6 separate regions of the Homo sapiens genome follow, and all the other regions are linked to region 2. Evidence: promoter capture Hi-C in 16 types of primary human blood cells and fetal thymus (Javierre and others, 2016). All regions are on one chromosome and are shown on one strand. Each heading gives the region's core, a stretch centred on a gene start or on the middle of the fragment in contact. The rest is flanking DNA. Distances are from core to core; before and after follow the strand shown.

Region 1 (3,102 bases), core at 132-2,631, 410 kb before region 2:
ATCGTGAACTCCAGGCCTCAAGCAATACTCCTTACTTCTGTCTTGGCCTCCCAAAGTGGTGAGATTACTTTGGTGTAGCCACTGTGCCTGACCCTAGTTTCAGATTTTATACCAGAGAACTAGACAAGGAATTCCCAACCTTTGTTTTATCCCAAGATGTCCTCCTTTTCTGCTTTTTTTTTCCCTCCCAAAGAGAACAGTGGGGGTTGGAGGGATGGTTATCCTTGGGCTATTCTACTTGTTTTTGTTCTGGCACACCTACTCCTTACTACAGTTAGAAAAATTATACACTGTAGCTTATACTCAGATCTCTGGTCACTTAAATACAAGAAGCTTCAGTCTTTCTTACTTTCATTTTTTGTCTTTTTTTGGGATGGTGGTGGTAATGGTGTTGCTAGACTCTAAGCTCTGTAAGATTATGTCTTTGTTTAGGCATGGGCAGTGCCTAGCCCATAGCAGATGAATGAATGAATGAATGAATGAATGAATGGGGATATTATCCTATAGATGGTGTGTGGTTTAGAAAATCAACTATTGAGACTTGACATGAAATTCTACATCGGGCGTTGAGATTAACATGATTCCCAGTTTTCACTGAGGGATATCACATCCAGAGAACCTGAGAAGGGATCCCTAGCTCCTTGTTCTAGCCTTGAGAAGTAGTGGATGAGCTATGAAAAGACAGCTTTTAAAAATAAATGAAATCCTAGTGATAATTTGATCCACTCTCAGACTAACTATGAAAGTTGACTAAGATCAAACAGAGCTAGTGGCAGATCTGGGACTGGAATTAGCCCTCCATGTCCCCAGCTCCAGTACTTTTCTTACTACATGAGATAGTCTTGCCAGTGACCATCACTGCAAGGCAAAGTAAAGTTCTGTAACAAAGACCTAGAACAGAAATAGAAGATACATGGTATACATGCCATGACATTTCCTTCCAGTGCACAGAAGAGATGTCACTAGCCATATGACATTCTTCCCATTGGGTGCGAATAGGCCCTCAGGCAGCCACTACCAACCAGTCAGAGTCAGCACTCAAGAGGAAACCCATCTACCATTCCTCTTCCAGAGGAAATAAAGGTTTCATCAGTCAAGGAACTCTGGCCTCGACCTGTCTTCTCCAGATGAGCTGAAAACTCCAGCAGGAACCTCACACTCTTTATTGCTCTTCACTGTGCCCACATCCACAAAGGACTTAAAAGTGATGTCTGTAAGCAGGTTTTCCACAGCATGGGTCTGCCAGACAGAGCAGGTGCAGGATTAGTCATGACTCCAAGCCAGGCAAGGTGATTAAGAAAAGCTAAATTTATATTAAATTATCATAAAGTCCTAAAATACTGAACATAGTGGTTAAATAACTCCAGAAAGTCCAATCTCTCCAGTGAGTAACGTTAAAACCATTACACATGAGCATGGGAGAATCGCTTCCATTAGTTTAGGACAGAGAGATTTTGCTTTTTACAGAGTAAATCAGTGCTCAAATAGATACTTCCTCAAATATGTCCTTTCTACATTCTGAACAGCCCAAGTGCAATAAGATCCTTCCCCCTTTCCAATCAAGAAAATGCCACTTTTCTACTTGCTCTTCCTCCCCAGACGTGAGTCTAAGGACCCAAAGTGCTCACTCCTTTACTGCTTGTTAAGTGTAATGTGGGGAGGCTCAGAACTGGGGCTGACGCTACTGAGAGCAAGGCTAAGGGCCTGGTATCTCTCTCTAGCAGTCTTAGAACTGACTAGAAAAGAATTGATCTTGTCCTTTTTCACTTTGGTAGCTGATTTCTCAATACCAGTAACCACAGGAGAAGTTTCAACTCAGGAAACTTCCCCTAGAAATTCTCCCCTCCATTCCCAGCCCCTGTTGTTCTCTCCTGCCACTTCTAATTCCTGGGGGAGAAGAGGTCTGGGTCTGCCATGGGCTAGGAGGGCCTCATCAGTGGTGCTCTCTACCTTCCTACTCCTTACCCACCTCTTTGTATTTTTATTTATTCAGCCCTCCCACCACAGGACTTTGGAGATTGCTGGTGCCACAAGGCTTGGTCAGAAAAAGCAAATTAGGCAAAAAAACAAACAAAAAAACCCCACGAAGAACAGCTAGGGAGACGTTTTAGGGCAAAAATAAGTCTCAATTTCCCTGATACCAGGCTGAGACACGTGCCCTTTGTGTGAATGAGCATGAACCAAGTGATGGCATCCCACATGGAAACTAAGCCCCTTAGCTGAGGGGACAGCTGGAAGAGGAACATCACCACCCCGTAGCCACAGGCTTGCTGTCCACTAACTTAGATCCCTGAGCACTTGAGAAAGAACATAGGAAGTTCAACAGGAAGTTTGACCCTCATGGATACTTCTCTTTAGGCCCTGGGTTTCCCAAGTCTCCAACCTGATCGTTCTTTCTGACCATTTATGACAACTTCTGGTTTTTCTTTGAAAGCTTGTTTCTAGGTCTCTTCCCCAGAATCCCAGGACATGAGGGAGAGAGGGGTCAGGAGGTATACCATATTTGGTCTAGGCAGAGCTTCTTAGACTTTTCAGAGACTCAGCCCCCAAGGCCTAACATTCACTCAAGCCACTGGCTCACAACCTGGTTAATTTGAGCAAAGACTTAGGAAAGGTACTGGCCAGTGGTGGCACCAGGAGGGAATTCCTATTAGCCAGTAGCCTTGTGATAGGGGACCCAGTTATCTGAATGTAGAAACAGCTCCAGACATTCTAGGAGGAGGAAGAACAGCCTGAGCCACCCCCATCTCACCAGTATCTGCTGCTGAAAAGGCAGTGTCTCTTAGGGCAAGAATAATGTCCACTGCCAGCAATGGACCAGACACCCAGATCCAACTACCCCCCAAAGCTTTTTCATGTTACTAACACACTTGAGGCTGGAGGTTTCCCAGATGCCCATACCTGCTGGGCTGATTCTTCCTTCTTCTCTCAGCCTCTATCCTTCATCCCTGTCTTTACCCACACCCCCATGTCCCAGCCCCTGATGGGCAAGTTCTCTCAGAGAAGCAGTCATGCTGGCTGTGATGGGGCAGAGCGCAGTCCTGGGTCATCAGCTGCATCAGCACTGAGAAGCAGGCACTGAGGGTACTGGGGAAAGGGGAG
Region 2 (3,128 bases), core at 378-2,877:
CTGGGGACAGGCAAAAGCTGTGTTTGTCTCTCTCCTTTCCCCAGGACCGACTGATGTTCCCACGGATGCTAATGAAACTGGTGAGCCTCCGGACCCTGAGCAGCGTCCACTCAGAGCAAGTGTTTGCACTGCGTCTGCAGGACAAAAAGCTCCCACCGCTGCTCTCTGAGATCTGGGATGTGCACGAATGACTGTTCTGTCCCCATATTTTCTGTTTTCTTGGCCGGATGGCTGAGGCCTGGTGGCTGCCTCCTAGAAGTGGAACAGACTGAGAAGGGCAAACATTCCTGGGAGCTGGGCAAGGAGATCCTCCCGTGGCATTAAAAGAGAGTCAAAGGGTTGCGAGTTTTGTGGCTACTGAGCAGTGGAGCCCTCGCTAACACTGTGCTGTGTCTGAAGATCATGCTGACCCCACAAACGGATGGGCCTGGGGGCCACTTTGCACAGGGTTCTCCAGAGCCCTGCCCATCCTGCCTCCACCACTTCCTGTTTTTCCCACAGGGCCCCAAGAAAAATTCTCCACTGTCACTCTGTGGTATGGCCATAAATGCCTCAGCGCCGCCTCACTGATAGGTCTGGTACTGTTTGAACAGGAAGATCAAAATGAATACAAAATGAGAGAAACCAATTTCTGGATTGGGGGTGGGGACACGGTAATAGAGGAGGAAGCCTGCGATCTTTAGGATCCGCCTCCAGGCCCAGAGGAGGGAGAGTCACAAATGACAGCCTTGGCCGTGAGAGGGGGCCTCTTCTTACTAACCCCCACTGCGCCATATGGGTAAATGGAATGCTGAGGCTTAGGCGCCCCCTTCCCCTGCTGGGATCCGGGTAGGATCCGGTTGCCTTTCTGCGGTGGAGGAGGAAGTGTTGGATTTCAGCGCTAAGGCGTCGGCGGTGCACCTCACGTGCATGTGTAGCATGCCTTGGTTTTTCCTTTGGCATCTGAAAAAGGCACAACCTGAAAGACCTAGAACCCAGTGTCGGTCCCCAGGCCCTTTGGGACAGGAAGAGAAGAGCCGTGTGGCCGCGGGGAGGATGTCCTGAGGCGGGGCTGTCCTCGCGGACTGACTGGACTCCATCTCCCAGCGGGCGCCGCGGCGCGGCCACGCCCCCCCACTCCCCGCGCGCGCCCGGTGGAGGTAACCGCGGCCGCGCGCCCCCCTCTGCCCCCGCTGCCCAGGATTGGTAGGCTCCACCGCTCGGCAGCCGGCTTCCCTGCTCGGACGCCGAGCACCGCCAAAGCGCGTGAGTGGGGGGTGGGGACTGGGGGATGGGGAGCCCGTCAGGAAGTCTCAGGGGCCGATTATCTTGGGAAGTGACTTTCAGAGGAATCCCCATGTCGTCGAAACGGGCGCTATGACCCCGTCGGGTGAGAGTCTCTCTGAGCAACCCAAACAGAAGGTACTGCTGTGGGTCCCCCACTTGGCACGCGACGGCGCTGGGTCGGCCTGGCGCGCCCTCCCGCGCCCACGGGCGCTAGGCTAGGTCTGTGCGCAGCCGCTGTCTCCCGAGGTCGGCCCCGCCCCGCGGCGCTCGGCTCGGTGCAGCCCCGGCCCCCCGGGCTGAATGGTACGGCCCCGGCCCCGGCCTCCCCCTCCGCACCCCGCGCGAGTGGTGCGTGCCCCCCAGTGCAGACGCGGAACTGGCGCCCGCTCGGAGCGGCGCCGCGCTGGGGAGCGACTGACGCCCCGCTGCCGGGGGACGTCGGGCTGGGCCTGGCCAGTCCCCCAGAGCTTGGGAGGTAGGAGAGTCTGGGCCGGTGGGGTCCTGGGCGAGCGTCTGGGGACTCCGAGCGGGAGACGGGCTCTGAGAGGACACCGTGGCTCTTGGAGGAAGGGGTCTCTCAGGAGGCCCTGGGGGAGTGTGAAGGGGCGTGGGGACGGGGGTCTGCCGAGGAGGGGCGGGGACGGGGATGGGGGCGCCCCGGGCAGAGGAGGGGGCTCAGGCTACTGGGCTTGGTTCCTGCCGAGCGGGCGGCTCGGGTTCAGGTTCGGGGCGGGGGCGGGGGCGGGGGAGAACTGTCCAGCAGGTGAGGGGGCGGGCAGAGCTGGCCAGCCCTGGGGCCGAACCCGCACAGCGCTTGGCGGGTGTGCTTGTGCGTGTGCGTGCTTGCGCCTTATTTTTGGCTAGAATTTGGAGAAACACGTTTGGTTCTCAAGAAATTTTTTTTTTAACTTGATATTTCAAAATTGACTTGCTGGAGAGAGAACACCATTTCATCTTTCTGCAATCGCTCTCCTCCCCATCCTCGTGTATCTACCTTCTTCCACCTTTCCCTGCCCTCCCCTCTACCCCAACCCTGCCAGCTGCCAGCCTCCTTGCTCCAGTTCTCCCATACGCTGGACCAGTCTGTGCTGATGAGCTTGCAAGGTCACTGCCTGGGGAGGTAGAGGAGGGGAGGAGAGCCTCCTGTTGTGTTCACGTCAGCAGAGATGTCATATCGCTCTCTGGTTCCTGTGGTTTTACTGTGAGATCCTGTCCAAAATGAGGGACGAATCCAAAGGGTTGGTTAGCATGGCTATTTCTGCTGAAAAGGCATAGATAACTTAAAAGTTTGTGAATCCTAAATCTACCTCTGGGTGGAGCTGATGGTGATGTCGGACTTCAGCAGATAGATATGCATTTTGAGCTGGATGCTTTTGGAATACAGGAAGATAGGAACCAGAGGCTCTACGTTAGTAAACATGGTTGAGGCAAGAGGCAGAGTCGGAGCCTCGTTGGTTGTGAAGACAAGAGTGTGAGTTGTGGGTGATGTTAGAGGATTTAGTCTTTAGAGGAGTTAAAGGTGTTAGTCTTTTTGGGGAGGGGAGAGAGGAGAGAATGAGAAGGAAAATCTTAGTTATCTTTGCAATCTGAATAACTGAAGGCAGTGGCTGCTGATCAGATGTGAACTCTGGCTAAAAATTTATCCTACCACCCGTAGCTAGAATAATAACAAGATCTCAGGGTCCTTGTGGCTCTGGAAGGAAATGATTGTGAGTGACTTGAGTTTCGTCAGATAGTTGTCAGTGGAGAGGGACTGAGATCCCACCAAGGCTAGAGAGGCCTGATGCGTACTCAGTAGGAGGTGCTTCAGGCCTGATCTTTGAGATTTTGGTTGGAGAGGGCTCCGGGTTTTCAATGTAAAC
Region 3 (3,364 bases), core at 460-2,959, 460 kb before region 2:
AGCAACCAGAAAACTTTTTGTCTCACCTGAACAGAGTTTATATTTTGTAATGGGGGTCTCAGAGCATCCCGAATCCATCTGTAAATCTCCACAGCAATTAGTTTGGCTTCATCTCGAACAGCCTTCTCTCGAGACTCAAAGAGTTTTGGCAACACTTTGATAATTGGCTTAAGCAAGATGATTTTGGAACCAAATTCACTACAAGTAAAAAATTGGGAAAAAACTGTCAACGTGCAATGCAATTAAATAAAGCATTAGCTTTTCTTCATTCAAACATAGTTCCATATCTACATATTAGAAGAATTATATAAGTTCAGTTTTTTTTAAGGCAACAAAAGAAAAGGAACTCATAACTGCTTACCTACTAAGGTGTTGTTCTTCTAAGAATATTATTTAATGTGTAGGGCCCAAAATAATATTACCATTTTTAAACAAACTTTCTAGGTAAGCAGACTAGGAATAATTAAAACCTATAAAGGATCAACATGTTTAATACCCTTTTTTTTTCTTTTTCAGATGGCATTTTGCTCTTGTTGCCCAGGCTAGAGTGGTATGGCATGATTGCAGCTCACTGCAACCTCTGCCTCCTGAGTTCAGGTGATTCTCCTGTCTCAGTCTCCCAAGTAGCTGGGGTTACAGGCATGCGCCACCACGCCCAGCAAATTTTTGTATTTTTAGTAGAGATGGGGTTTCACTATGTTGGCCAGGCTGGTCTGGAACTCCTGACTTCAGGTGATCCACCCGCCTCAGCCTCCTAAAGTGCTGGATTACAGGCGTGAGCCACCACACCCAGCCTAATACCACAAATATGTATGTATATACATATAAAAGCTTACAAATATAAACTAGTTTATAAATATTTACATGAATGAAATCTACTTTTAATAAACCTTTAATAGCTCCTATAATTAAAGTGATTCATTTACCTAGATAGATCACAAATCTTGGCAATATTTTGTTCCTGACTTTGTGGCTATCACACTATAACTCTGGGCATCTTAAATCTTTCTTTACTTCAGTTTTCTATGGGGAAAATGTTGCATTTTGACTTCTTTCAAAAAGCATATTTGGCCAGGCGCAGTGGCTCACACCTATAATCCCGGCACTTTGGGAGGCTGAGGCAGGTAGATCACCTGGGGTCAGAAGTTCAAGGCCAGCCTGGCCAACATGGTGAAACCCTGTCTCTACAAAAATACAAAAATTAGCCAGGCACGATAGTGGGCGCCTGTAATCCCAGCTACCTGGGAGACTGAGGTGGAAGAATCGCTTGAACCCGGGAGGCAGAGGTTGCAGTGAGCCGAGATCGCGCCACTGCACTCCATCCAGCCTGGGCAACAGAGCAAGGTTCCGTCTCAAAAAAAAAATAAAATTAAAAAAAAGTGTGTTTAACCTTACATATCTGTCATAGATTACATTTTCAAGTTCCCAACTGGCCAATTTTAGCTATCTAATATCACTATTAACATTTGTGAGTATCAGATTCTGGAGCAGGAGAGATTTATTTATGAAAGAACACTGAAATTCTGTATGAGTAGTAGGACCCAAATTATTATTTATCTATTATCTAATGTGCACAAATTTATCTCATGTGAGCAAATGCAACAAAATTACTCAGTAATAGCTACTAGTGTACTCCAACGATTTTTTTTTCTTGGTTTTTGTTTTTACTTTTTTGGAGACAGGGTCTCACTATGTCATCCAGGCTGGAATGCAGTGGTATGATCACAGCTCACTGCAGCCTCGACCTTCCCTGCTCAAGCTATTCTCCAGACTCAGTCCCCCAAGCAGCTGAGACTACAGAGGGGCACCACCATGCCCGGCTAATTTTTTTTTTGTATTTTTTGTAGAGACGGGGTTTCTCCTTGTTGCCCAGGCTGGTCTTGAACTCCTGGGCTCAGGCAATCTGCCTGCCTCAGCCTCCCAACCCAAAGTGCTGGGACAATACAGGCATGAGCCACTGCTCCTGGCCTTAATTATTATTATTATTTTTGAGATAGTGTCTCACTCTGTTAACCAGGCTGGAGTACAGTGACACAATCATAGCTCACAGCAGCCTCACCCCCTGGGCTCAAGTAATCTTCCTGCCTCCTGAGTTGGTGGGACTACAGGCACAATAAAAAAAGAATTTTTAATAAGATACCTGGCTATGTGATATAGTTTAAGTACAAATATCATGAGAATAACCTACATAATCTCTAAGATTTTTTAAAATGCTTTTATATTATTAAAAAAATTACATTTTAACTTGGCTCAGCTGACCTTTAAGATTAAACAAAAAATAAGAAATTATAGTGGCAATAAACCATTTTGTTTTAGGGATATTTAACATGGTGCCTGAAGAACCTAACATTTGAGATTTCTTAAATCTTCCTATATATTATTACTGTTTCATCTGAATCTTTTTTCTCTATCCTGGCCTCCTTCTGTAAGAAAAAAAAGATGGAGCAAGTCCACATGGAAAATAGACACCTTAATAAAATAAAACCTAATTTTGATACTAAACGTATTACTATAGAAAACACAAAAGGGTACTAGAAACCTGTTTTAGGTACCACAAATGTTTCTGGTCACCTGAAGCTCTCACTAACAAAGCTTTAGCAAGCTCTGGAACCCAGGATCAAGCAGTTTGGCCTCAAGGTTCTTGAGGGTCCCAGAGAGCTACCTAGTTAAACTATAGACTCTGAAATGCTTTAGGACAAATAAAGAACCACACAGGGATGGGACTACATAACAACATCTATGAAGAAAACATGAGATATACGTAACTTGTTATTTTCCTACCCTTATTCTCCCAGTTTAGCTAAAAAATGAAATAACCAGAGTACACAGCACTCCAGACTAGAAACTTGTAATTTAAAGGTAGAAGATTATAGGCCAGGTGCGGTTGCTTATGTCTGTAATCCCAGCACTTTGGGAGGCCGAGGTGGGATCACTTGATGCCAGGAGTTCCAGACCAGCCTGACCAACATGGAGAAACCCATCTCTATTAAAGAAAAAAAAAATTAGCTGGGTGTGGTGGTGCTCACCTGTAGTCCCAGCTACTCAGGAGGCTGGAGGCATGAGAATCGCTTGAACCCAGGGGCGGAGGTTGCAGTGAGCTGAGATCGTACCACTGCACTCCAGTCTGGGTGACAGAGCGAGACCTTGTCTCAAAAAAAAAAAAAAAAAAAAAAAAAGATTACAGTATTTTTTAAAATTTAGACATCACTAAGGACACAAAAGATTTATTGATATAAGCATAGTTCTGATAACTAAGATGAGTCACTAAATTTCTAAGATAATAGAATGAGCATACTGTTTACTACTCAGAAAAACATCTGCTTACTATATTGTAATAGGCTAGAAACAAGGAAACTTCATTCAC
Region 4 (2,961 bases), core at 175-2,674, 490 kb before region 2:
AGACCTTTGAGAACAAAGGTAATTTTCTTTTATATAAATGAGACAATCCAGCTCTCACTCTTCAGAAATAAACAGCAATAGCTATTATTATAAACAGCACGACTTAGAGACTGACAGAACATTTAACTATTTTCCACTTGATTTCGTTCTGACTTACCCAGAAAAACCAAATTCTTTTATGGCATTTGATAGCCAATTCAGAGTTTCTGACTGATTTTTGGGATTCTTTTGTGAGAAAGCCATTGACACAACCTGAAAAGGGAAAAACAGCAGATCTGTGTTTTATCTCGTATTTCTTATAGAAATACAGCATGACATTAAGGCAGATGTGCATTAAACTAGTTTTCTGACGCTAAAACAACTGCAAGAATGCCTTAGGAACAAGAGTGAACCTACACAAGAAAATGAGGTGAAATGATAGTAGGACTAAAGGCATTCTGGACTATTTATAGCTTTGCAGCAATTACTCTGCATTATAATGTTTTTTTTTTTTTTTTAGAGACAGGGTCTTGCTCTGTCACCCAGGAGTACAGTGGCACAATCATCAATCATTGCAGCCTCAAGCTCGTGGGCTTTCACCTTCTATAGAATTTTTTGTTTATTTGTTTTGAGACAGTCTCACTCTGTTGCCCAGGCTGGAGTACAGTGGCGTGATCTCGGCTCACTGCCACGTCTGTCTCCCAGGTTCAAGTGATTCTCCTGCCTCAGCCTCCCTAGTAGCTGGCATTACAGGTGTGCACCACCACGCCTGGCTAATTTTTGTATTTTTGGTAGAGACGGGATTTCACCATGTTGGCCAGGCTGCTCTCAAACTCCTGGCCTCAAGTCATCCTCCTGCCTCGGCCTCCCAAAGTGCTGGGATTGCAGGTGTGAGCCTCTGTGTCTGACCGAATATTTTTGACTAAGATGAATTTTCATCACTAGGCAATAGAGTATTTTTTAAGGTAAAAATAAAAATGCAGTATCAAAGGGCCGGGCATGGTGGCTCACACCTGTAATCCCAGCACTTTGGGAGGCCGAGGCAGGCAGATCACCTGAGGTCAGGAGTTCGAGACAAGCCTGGCCAACGTGGCGAAATCCTGTCTCTATTAAAATTCAAAAATTAGGCAGGCGTGGTGGCAGGTGCCTGTAATCCCAGCTATGCGGGAGGCTGAAGCAGGAGAATCACTTGAACCCGGGAGGGTTGCAGTGAGCCGAGATTGCACCATTGCATTCCAGCCTGGGCGACAGAGTGAAACTCCATCTCAAAAAAAATGCAGTATCAAAAAAGATTTTACTTGAGAAGATAAAAACTAATGTTTAATTAGTAAGCTTAAAGTTTGGGGGAAAAAATTGGGAAAACTAGAGGAATAAGACTTCTGTGTCACTAACCTGTTCAGCAGTCCATGGTAACATACAGGCTTCGGCTATTGCTGTCATAGCTTCTTTTGCATTGTTCCCACATTTCACATCTCCAATCTTGTCCACAAGGCCATCTAATACAACCTGAGCTGACGTTTTGGAAAAATTTCCCTTCTGGGCAATCAAAGCAACTATATGAAGCTTCATTTGCATCACCTGAACAAGGATCAGTATCATAAAGCTAAGAGCAAGCCAAGGACATTTATTTATTTACTTGTATTAACAGCATGTAACAGATATGACATGGTTAGGGACAGCTGGAAACACAACTAAAGTAAAATCAGGATTTTAAACAAATATGCAAAATAATTTGTATCCTTTAATTGTTACCAATTACTTAACTGACAGTGAAGAGAGGGAAAAAAAGCTACTCAGTGTTCCAAAATACTAACAAGTAATATTGCACAGAAAGTTTATTAATTGAAAAATCTGATTTTTAAATTTTCCTCCTCTTATGATTATTTGCATTTAGTACTGAATACACACCCTAAAATACACAATAAATTACTATACTGACTGCATAACTGAGAATTACTACTAGGGCTGCCTACAAAAACACTACAACCCTCTTATACACACATGCAACACAGAACTTCAGAGATTTTAGAGAACTTGTTGGCTTTTAAGTATAAGAATAAAAAGATCTGTGGAAAATAATTTAAAGATATTATTGTGATGGCAGACCTATGGGATTAAGGACCCCTTTGCTCATAAATATTTTTCTTTGTACTGTGTGAATATTTTAACTTTTTTTGTTACGCCACTAGAAATCCTATTATACAGATTAATTTAGGTGACAAATACTCCCATTTATTTATGTATTTATTTGACAGAATCTTGTTCTGTCACCCAGGCTGGAGTGCAGTGGTGAGATATCAGCTTACTGCAACCTCTGCCTCCTGGGTTCAAGCGATTCTCATGCCTCAGCCTCGCAAGTAGCTGGGATTACTTACAGGCGCCCGCCACCACGCTTGGCTCATTTTTGTATTTTTAGTAGAGATGAGGTTTCACCATGTTGGCCGGGCTGGTCTCGATCTCCTGACCTCAAGTGGATCTCAAGTGGGATCTCACCTCAGCCTCTCCAAGTGCTGGGATTACAGGCGTGAGCCACTGTGCCCAGCCACACAAACATCCTCTTTTAAAATGCAATTATCGCCTGGCTCATGCCTGTAATCCCAGCACTTTGGTAGGTTGAGTCGAGGGGAATGCTTGAGCCCAGGAGTTCAAGACCAGCCTGGTCAATATGGAGGGACCCCAGCTCTACAACAAGTACAAAAATTAGTTGGGTATGGTGGCCCTCGCCTGTAGTCCCAGCTACTTGGGAGGCTGAGGTGGGAGGATCACTTGAACCCAGGAGGCTGAAGCTGCAGAGAGACATGTTGACACCACTGCACTATCTAGCCTGGGCAAGAGAGTGAGACTTTGTCTCAAACCCCCAAAATTTGACATAGCAGGCATGTGAAAAAATAAAAATTTAAAAAATTAAAAAAAAAATTCCCAAACCAAAAAACAAACCAAAGAAATGTAATTATCTTGGGTGGGACTTCTGCAATTGTGGAG
Region 5 (3,157 bases), core at 429-2,928, 510 kb before region 2:
TTTTGGATTTGGTTCCTTCCATGATAAAGGGAAACATCTTGCTAGCTGGGTAGACAAGGCACATCCGGTTCAGGATGGCACGAACATCTTTACGAATGACATCCTTTGGTTCTCCAACCTAGTCGATAAGGAAAATAATGATTAAGTGAGGCATTTCCTAAGTAGCAATGATTCTCCCATGCATTACTATGTTTTGAAAGAATAGGGAAATAGGGATAAGTAGGGAAGGTACCGTGATATAATCAGTAAAAAAGGGAGAGGAAATAAAAGTACAGAAACTGAGGTCAGCTGGGAACTTAAGCAGTCTCCCAGAGAGAGAACACCACATTACCTTGACGACAAGATAGGGGATGAAGGAAGATGCTTCATTCTCAGTAAGATGATATTCTTCTTCACTTAGCAAGGTGAAGAGCAATTTTAAATATTCTAGTGCTTTCATCAGGACGCTTGTATTGGTGTCAAAAAACCTCAGGGTAAGCCACTTTAAGATAAGATCCAGGCAACCAATAACTCCTTCTTTTTCACTCTCCAAGTGCTTAAAATAAAACAAAACAAAACTCCCACAAATAAGAATAATCAAAATCTTAATTCTACTAGGCAAGTGTCTTTTAAATTTTATTGGAGCCCAAAAAGAAAATGACAGATTTTTAAGCCTTCAATTAAGACCTAAAAAATATACACACACATTCATTTATTCTACCAAATAACAAGACAGCTCTAAAAATAGAGAACATAGTATATTCTACTTCCAAGTCATGCAAACTTCAGATTATTTCATAGGGCTCGGTATTTTTACATGTCTGAAATACATGTATATTTATCTATTGCAGACTTACATCAACCATAACAGCAAGGGCTTTGTTATGATGCTGAAAGTCTGAGTGAAACATCTCATCTTGTAACCATTTAGCCACACAGCTAGACATTTGAGTCTTTAGTTGCTCAATGTATTCATCCCGTGGGGTAGTAAAATTCCACTTTAGCACCTGGAAAAAACAAACGGTGAAAAGGGGCTACAGGGTGTTCAACTGAAATGAGGTAGAGAGCCTTATATAATGCAGCTGCAGGAACAATAAAATATTTAAAAATTCAACAATATTCATTTGTAATTAAATATGAATGCAAATTTCAAGGTGTCATACTTCTTGAAGCTTAACAACTCTGAAAATCTTCTAGGAATAAAAATTTTTGGAATTGTTTGTTTTTGAGACAGAGTCTCACCTGTTGCCTGGGCATGGCAGAGTGCAGTGGCATGATCATAGATCACTGTAGCATTAACCTCCCAGGCTCAAGTGATTCTTCTGCCTTAGCCCCCCAAGTAGCTGGGACTACAGACATGCACCACTATGCCCAGCTAATTAAAAAATTTTTTTCGTAGAGATGAAGTCTCAATATGTTGTCCAGGCTGGTTTTGAATTCCTGGGCTCAGGCAATTTGCCTGCCTTAGCCTCCCAAATTGTTGGGATGACAGGCATGAGCCACTGTGCCTGGCCTTGCAATTCTTACTAAAGAAAAAAAAAAAATTAATCCTACATATAACTATATAACATGGTGGACACTGCTGCCACATCTTTGATAGAGAGAAAATTTGAAATATCTATCAAAATTATGCATATCATCATTCTAGGAGTTTAATATAGATACACTCACATATGTGTACAAAGACCTACATTCAAAGATATTCACAGCAGCAGTGTTTGTAATAGTGAAAGACCAGAAACAACCTAAATGTCCAACATAGTGGGCGAAGGATAAAGAAAGGTACATACATACAATGCACCAATACAAACAGTGATACACACATATATACACAGATACGAATGATCTTTCAGATATTTCAAACATCATTAAAAGAAAATAGTGAGATACAGAACAAACAGTACGGCATGTCTGTATATGCCATCTGTATAAAAGGAGGGCTATATAAAAATATACATATGATAGTAGAGGTATAAAATATTTCTGGAGTAATACATTGAAAAAATGAGGACTAATATCCTCCCTGTGGAGGGATACTGGAACAGAGACATGCTTTTCTTACTATACTTTGCACTTTCTGTACTGCATATAATTTTTAAAAAAGATTATGTATTTTGAAAACAAATTTAAGTATCTAATGAAATCAAAGTAACATAAATGACTGAACTAGCCATTTATACAGTCACAAAGTCTGCCTTGTAAGGTCTTAAAAAGAAGGATTAATGAAGAAGCTTATACATCCAATTAATTAAAAAAAAAAATCAATGAAGATACCAAAAAAGCTACTAAATCATTTATTTCTATTTACAGGGAAAAATAGGCAATAACTCTATTCTATAGTTTCTTTTGTAGGAATTAATGCTCCCATAAACTAAATAATATAATTTATAAGCAAAAGAAACACTTAATTCCTAGATATTAAACAATAACATGAATTCAGACAGCAAAACTATTCTTGAATAACAATACAAGCAAAAATCTCCTGACGATTCTTAATCCTTCCTTACCTTCAATCCTTTTTCATCTTTCATCCTTTGCTCTTTTCCATTTGGAACAACAATAAAAATAGGCCCGGATTTGTCTTCATCCTCCTTTAAGCTGGTTTTGCTTGGCATCTTCTTCCCTTGTGCACTCTACAACCAAGGTTCAGGGAATACTGATTAGCTTGGCCACTTCTCCTTAAGAATATGATGCTGCTGCCCAGTAAAAGGGCACTGTAGAAAACAGAGATATCTTTCTACGTGATATTTCACATGAAAAAAACATGCATCACAGAATCTTGTATATGTTTTTGAACAGGTTCTCTAGAAATTTTTCTGAGAATATTCTTAAGTAACTGTTGGTTAGTTCTTGGACTGGCATGTTATGTAGTTGGAAAAACTGCTATTACTGATCATTAGTCTAGGTCACAAACTTTTTGTTTTTGTTTTCTTGAAATCTTCAACACTATTTATAGCTTTCCATATTAATGACATCTTTTTTTTTTTTTTTTTTTTTTTGAGACGGAGTCTCACTCTGTCGCCCAGGCTGGAGTGCAGTGGCGTGATCTCAGCTCACTGCAATCTCCACCTCCTAGGTTCAAGTGATTCTCCTGACTCAGCCTCCTCAGTAGGTGGGACCAAAGGCGCCCACCACCACCCCTGGCTAATTTTTGTATTTTTAGTAGAGACAGGGTTTC
Region 6 (3,288 bases), core at 427-2,926, 350 kb before region 2:
TCCTACCCCAGTAGGGCCGCTGTCCCAACACGCCAAAGAGGCTACAAATAACCTTCCAGGAGAGAGCCGGGGAGGGGAGAGCGCAGAGCGGAGCGGAACGTGGGCCGGCCAAGCTACCGCTCTTCGGAGAGAAAGAGCTCAGTCCGCGCTAGAGAGGACGCGGAAAAAAGCCCCTGAAAACCCACAGGTAGTTTAAATAAGAGACATGAAAACTCTGTTTTGGATTTGGGAGGTAAACCAATCTTTAAAACGAGTGCCTAGACATCTCCACGCCCTGCCAGGCAAGTTCGGAAATCTGCACTGACTTTTTCCACACGAGCTGTCCTACGTGAAAGAAAGAACCGGTAAAAGACCAGGCAGGGTCTCCAGACCCCTCCATTCTGAGCCCCAGCTCCCTTCATCGGGGCTGCGAGGCAAATGGGGAGACTCGGAACTCCCGCCACGATGAATAGCGATGGGTGAATAGGGCTGGGGTTCAAAGATCAAAGTTCTTTGATCTCTGGGCACAAACTAGGGAAAGCTGCTCAATCACGGGGTGCACCCAGGGTCGTTAAGAGCCCGCGGAGAAGCAGATTCCATCGGAGCCCTAGTCCCACACAACAGGGGGTACGGGCACCAAGGAGTCCTGCTGCAGCCGTCCAGCTCCCCCGAGGGCTGGGACCCTGCCGCGAGGGCCCGGCGGCTGCCTTCTGGGGTTCAGGGTTACCGGCCCCCTGCCCCCCTACCCCAGCCAGGGCAGATCTGCGGGAGCCTTCCAGCAGTTTCTTCCCTATATTCCTCCTCAGCCCCCTTTCCAACCACCTCCCTTTAGGACGATCCAGGGCTGGAAGCTGACTGGCCGCAGCCAAGAGAGGGACCCCGAAACACCGCCGAGGGGAGATGCTGCCCGCAAACAGTGCCCCAGAGCCCCTTGGTGGGAGCAAGACCTGGAGTCCGGGAATCGTTCTCCGAGTAGAGGAATCCCGGTGCCCAAGTACCAGATTCTACCGGGGCCTCTCTCCGCAACCCGCCCGAGCCCCCAGCCCCAGGAAGGAGGGCTATTTACAATTTATGGGTTTAGCGACCCTCCTCACCCGCCTCCCTTTCTTCGCACGCATTCATTCGCACCAAGGACACAGAGCCCCCGACCTAACCTGAAAGGGAAGCAGCCCCCGCTCTTGAAAGAGCAGCGAGGGAGGGCGAGCGAACGAACGCCCCGGACCTTACCCGCGCCCCGGCCCAGACCCGCGCCCCGGCCCAGACCCGAACCCGCGGAAGCGCCTCCGCTGATGCCCCCGCTCGGACTGCTGGAGCCGGGGCCGCTCCGGGTCCTCTCCCCTGCACGCAGCCCCAGGGCCACGGCTAGGAGCGAGGGCGAGGGGTCTCAGGCCCCGGCCCGCGCCGTCCAGGTCCCGGGAGGCGAGTCCTGCAGCGGCCGGACCCAGGGACAAACTTTCCCGGCGGGCGCCGCTTACCGTGTGCGCAGAGCAGGGCGCCAAGCAGCAGCGCGCCCCACTGCCGCCTCATGGTGCCGCCCGCGCCGCTCGCCCGGGGTCCCGCCGGCTCCCGCCGGACGGCGCGGCGGAGAAGCCCGCGGAGGGTCCCCGAGGGGGAAGCGTCCCGGGTGCACGGCGGCCTGCGCGCCCCGCAAGTCGCCCTCGGGCCGCCGCCGCCTCCAGTGCTGCCAGAGCCGACGCTGCCCCGCCAGGGGACCGGGAGGGGGTGTCCCGGGCCCGACCGCCCCGCCCCCCGCGCCGCAGCCCCGGCCACCGCCACCGCGCCTGGGCCCGCCCCCAGCGCCGGCCCGGCCCCTTCCCGCCCTCGGCCCCGGCTCCCTGGTCCCCCGACCCCACCCGCCGGCGCCTCCTGCGCGGGGCCCCGCTCCTCCTCAGGCCGCCCCCACATTCCTGGCCCGAGAGAGAGCCCCCTCCCTGTCGCTATTACTACTGCTTAAATTTCCCTAACTTAAAAAAAAAAAATTATCCTAGCAGCAAGTCTCGCCCCCGCTCACTCCAGCTCTATGCTTCAGACGAGCACCTGAGCTGACCCAAGTCGCCTGGACGTGACCCTGCCCCCGCCTACCGGCCCCAAGTCCAGACTTTTTTGATGTCTGCGAATACGCAAGGCTTGTGGATGCATAATCCTCTTGGGTCTTTATTGACATCAAACAAGGGACATCAGGGGGCCTGGAGTGCTGTATCTTAACTGGCGTTCTCACTGTCAAAATTCCTTTTCGGAGATTTTCTTCTCCCTGGCCTCCCCCGGTCTAGGCAGCGTTGTTCTAGGGCTAAATAATTCACCGACCCCCCCGCCCCTTTTCATTCACTCATTTCCTGAGATGGTTGTCTGGGTCCTGTTGCTCCAGCTCAGAGGCCCAGATTCGGCCCATACAGACTTAGTTCCTCCTTGCTGTCTTTGTAAATCACTGTTGTTAGCCTCTTCACCTTCTTTGACTTTCTGATCCTGACAAGGAAGGGAGGGGGTCAGGAAAGGAGTCCTCATGGGCAGCTGCACTCCCACAAAGCCCTCAGCCTCCTTCCAGCCCCAGTCTGTAGGTCCTTCCCTCAGATTTAACTTTTGATTTACTGCATAAAATCATAAACTTGTCTCTAGTCTTCCTTCCTTTTGTGGTCTACTCTCCCTAATGCATATTAATAATACGGATTAATTTCACCACCTTCCATTTTTCCAGGTTGAATCTTGTTTTGTTCCTTTTGCCCAAATGCCCAACTTTCTGATGGCCCAGTATATCGCTTTTTTCCCTCCCAGCTGATATGCCAGCATTTCTTGGGCTTGGATCATCTATGGATTTCATTAACTCACTTTCCTCACCAGTAAATAGAGTCAGGAAGACCCAAATGCCCCCTGTTAGCTGAGGGGAAAGTAATTTGGCATAGTGCAAAGTGGTTATTAGATTTCTCTAAATGGATACATTGACATTTCATCCTTGCTTGTTTTTTTCAGTACTTTCACTTCAAATTACCATCTTTTACCAAAGCTAACATGAACCATACTTTGCGACAGCAACAACAACAACATAAAAGATGTAAGGTGTTAACTCCTTGTTAGGCAGTAGTTTTCTATATCGTTTTGCCTGAAATTTTTATCCAGATGCAATGTGGTTGAACTAGCATCACCATGGTAACTATTACTGAAGCATTTTCTGGGTGTGTAGTTCTTCTTGCTGACTGAAGGCGGCAGTAGCGTCAGGTCAGGCTTACATGATCTTGGGGCTAGGCAAGACTGTCAACATTTCTGGCCTCGATCAGTTACCACAGCCTAAAATCCAAGGAGGAAAAAACGTCAAAA

Evidence for each region. Contacts are between HindIII fragments. The CHiCAGO score rates a contact against its expected background, and 5 or more counts as called.
Region 1: a fragment that was not itself captured here is called in contact with the fragment with the promoter of MADD in region 2 in 2 of 17 cell types (M0 macrophages and M1 macrophages); the score reaches 7.1 in M0 macrophages.
Region 3: a contact is called between a fragment that was not itself captured here and the fragment with the promoter of MADD in region 2, in 2 of 17 cell types (megakaryocytes and erythroblasts). The highest score is 7.2, in megakaryocytes.
Region 4: a contact is called between a fragment that was not itself captured here and the fragment with the promoter of MADD in region 2, in 1 of 17 cell types (megakaryocytes). The highest score is 6.2, in megakaryocytes.
Region 5: a fragment that was not itself captured here is called in contact with the fragment with the promoter of MADD in region 2 in 1 of 17 cell types (megakaryocytes); the score reaches 5.0 in megakaryocytes.
Region 6: a contact is called between the fragment with the promoter of LRP4 here and the fragment with the promoter of MADD in region 2, in 2 of 17 cell types (fetal thymus and naive B cells). The highest score is 7.1, in fetal thymus.

Annotation. Positions count from the first base shown.
Region 1 is chr11:46,855,577-46,858,678 of GRCh38, forward strand. LRP4 (LDL receptor related protein 4) reads right to left here. Exons shown (of 38, transcript NM_002334.4): 38 at 1,141-3,102. All of the region lies in intron 2 of LRP4-AS1 (LRP4 antisense RNA 1), which reads left to right. Among named protein-coding and RNA genes, the nearest start is that of LRP4-AS1, 11 kb to the left of the region's middle. The HindIII fragment of the contact is 2,101 bases long and covers 332-2,432 here.
Region 2 is chr11:47,268,506-47,271,633 of GRCh38, forward strand. MADD (MAP kinase activating death domain) reads left to right here and starts at 1,628. Exons shown (of 37, transcript NM_001376571.1): 1 at 1,628-1,741. It overlaps NR1H3 (nuclear receptor subfamily 1 group H member 3), which reads left to right. Exons shown (of 10, transcript NM_005693.4): 10 at 45-528. The coding sequence ends at 191. It overlaps MADD-AS1 (MADD antisense RNA 1), which reads right to left. Exons shown (of 3, transcript NR_120569.1): 2 at 2,574-2,636; 3 at 2,152-2,475. RefSeq lists enhancers at 810-919, 1,393-1,687 and silencers at 1,070-1,179, 1,390-1,919. The HindIII fragment of the contact is 13,444 bases long and covers 1-3,128 here.
Region 3 is chr11:46,810,981-46,814,344 of GRCh38, forward strand. CKAP5 (cytoskeleton associated protein 5) reads right to left here. Exons shown (of 44, transcript NM_001008938.4): 5 at 27-198. Among named protein-coding and RNA genes, the nearest start is that of CKAP5, 34 kb to the right of the region's middle. The HindIII fragment of the contact is 1,761 bases long and covers 830-2,590 here.
Region 4 is chr11:46,783,117-46,786,077 of GRCh38, forward strand. It overlaps CKAP5 (cytoskeleton associated protein 5), which reads right to left. Exons shown (of 44, transcript NM_001008938.4): 17 at 1,372-1,557; 18 at 158-252. Among named protein-coding and RNA genes, the nearest start is that of SNORD67, 22 kb to the left of the region's middle. The HindIII fragment of the contact is 231 bases long and covers 1,310-1,540 here.
Region 5 is chr11:46,762,645-46,765,801 of GRCh38, forward strand. CKAP5 (cytoskeleton associated protein 5) reads right to left here. Exons shown (of 44, transcript NM_001008938.4): 28 at 2,487-2,612; 29 at 837-986; 30 at 332-535; 31 at 1-118. Among named protein-coding and RNA genes, the nearest start is that of SNORD67, 1.7 kb to the left of the region's middle. The HindIII fragment of the contact is 1,059 bases long and covers 1,150-2,208 here.
Region 6 is chr11:46,916,874-46,920,161 of GRCh38, forward strand. LRP4 (LDL receptor related protein 4) reads right to left here and starts at 1,677. Exons shown (of 38, transcript NM_002334.4): 1 at 1,455-1,677. The coding sequence starts at 1,506. RefSeq lists enhancers at 1-738, 1,902-2,406, 3,101-3,288 and silencers at 1,242-1,411, 1,422-1,601, 1,612-1,841. The HindIII fragment of the contact is 10,743 bases long and covers 1-3,288 here.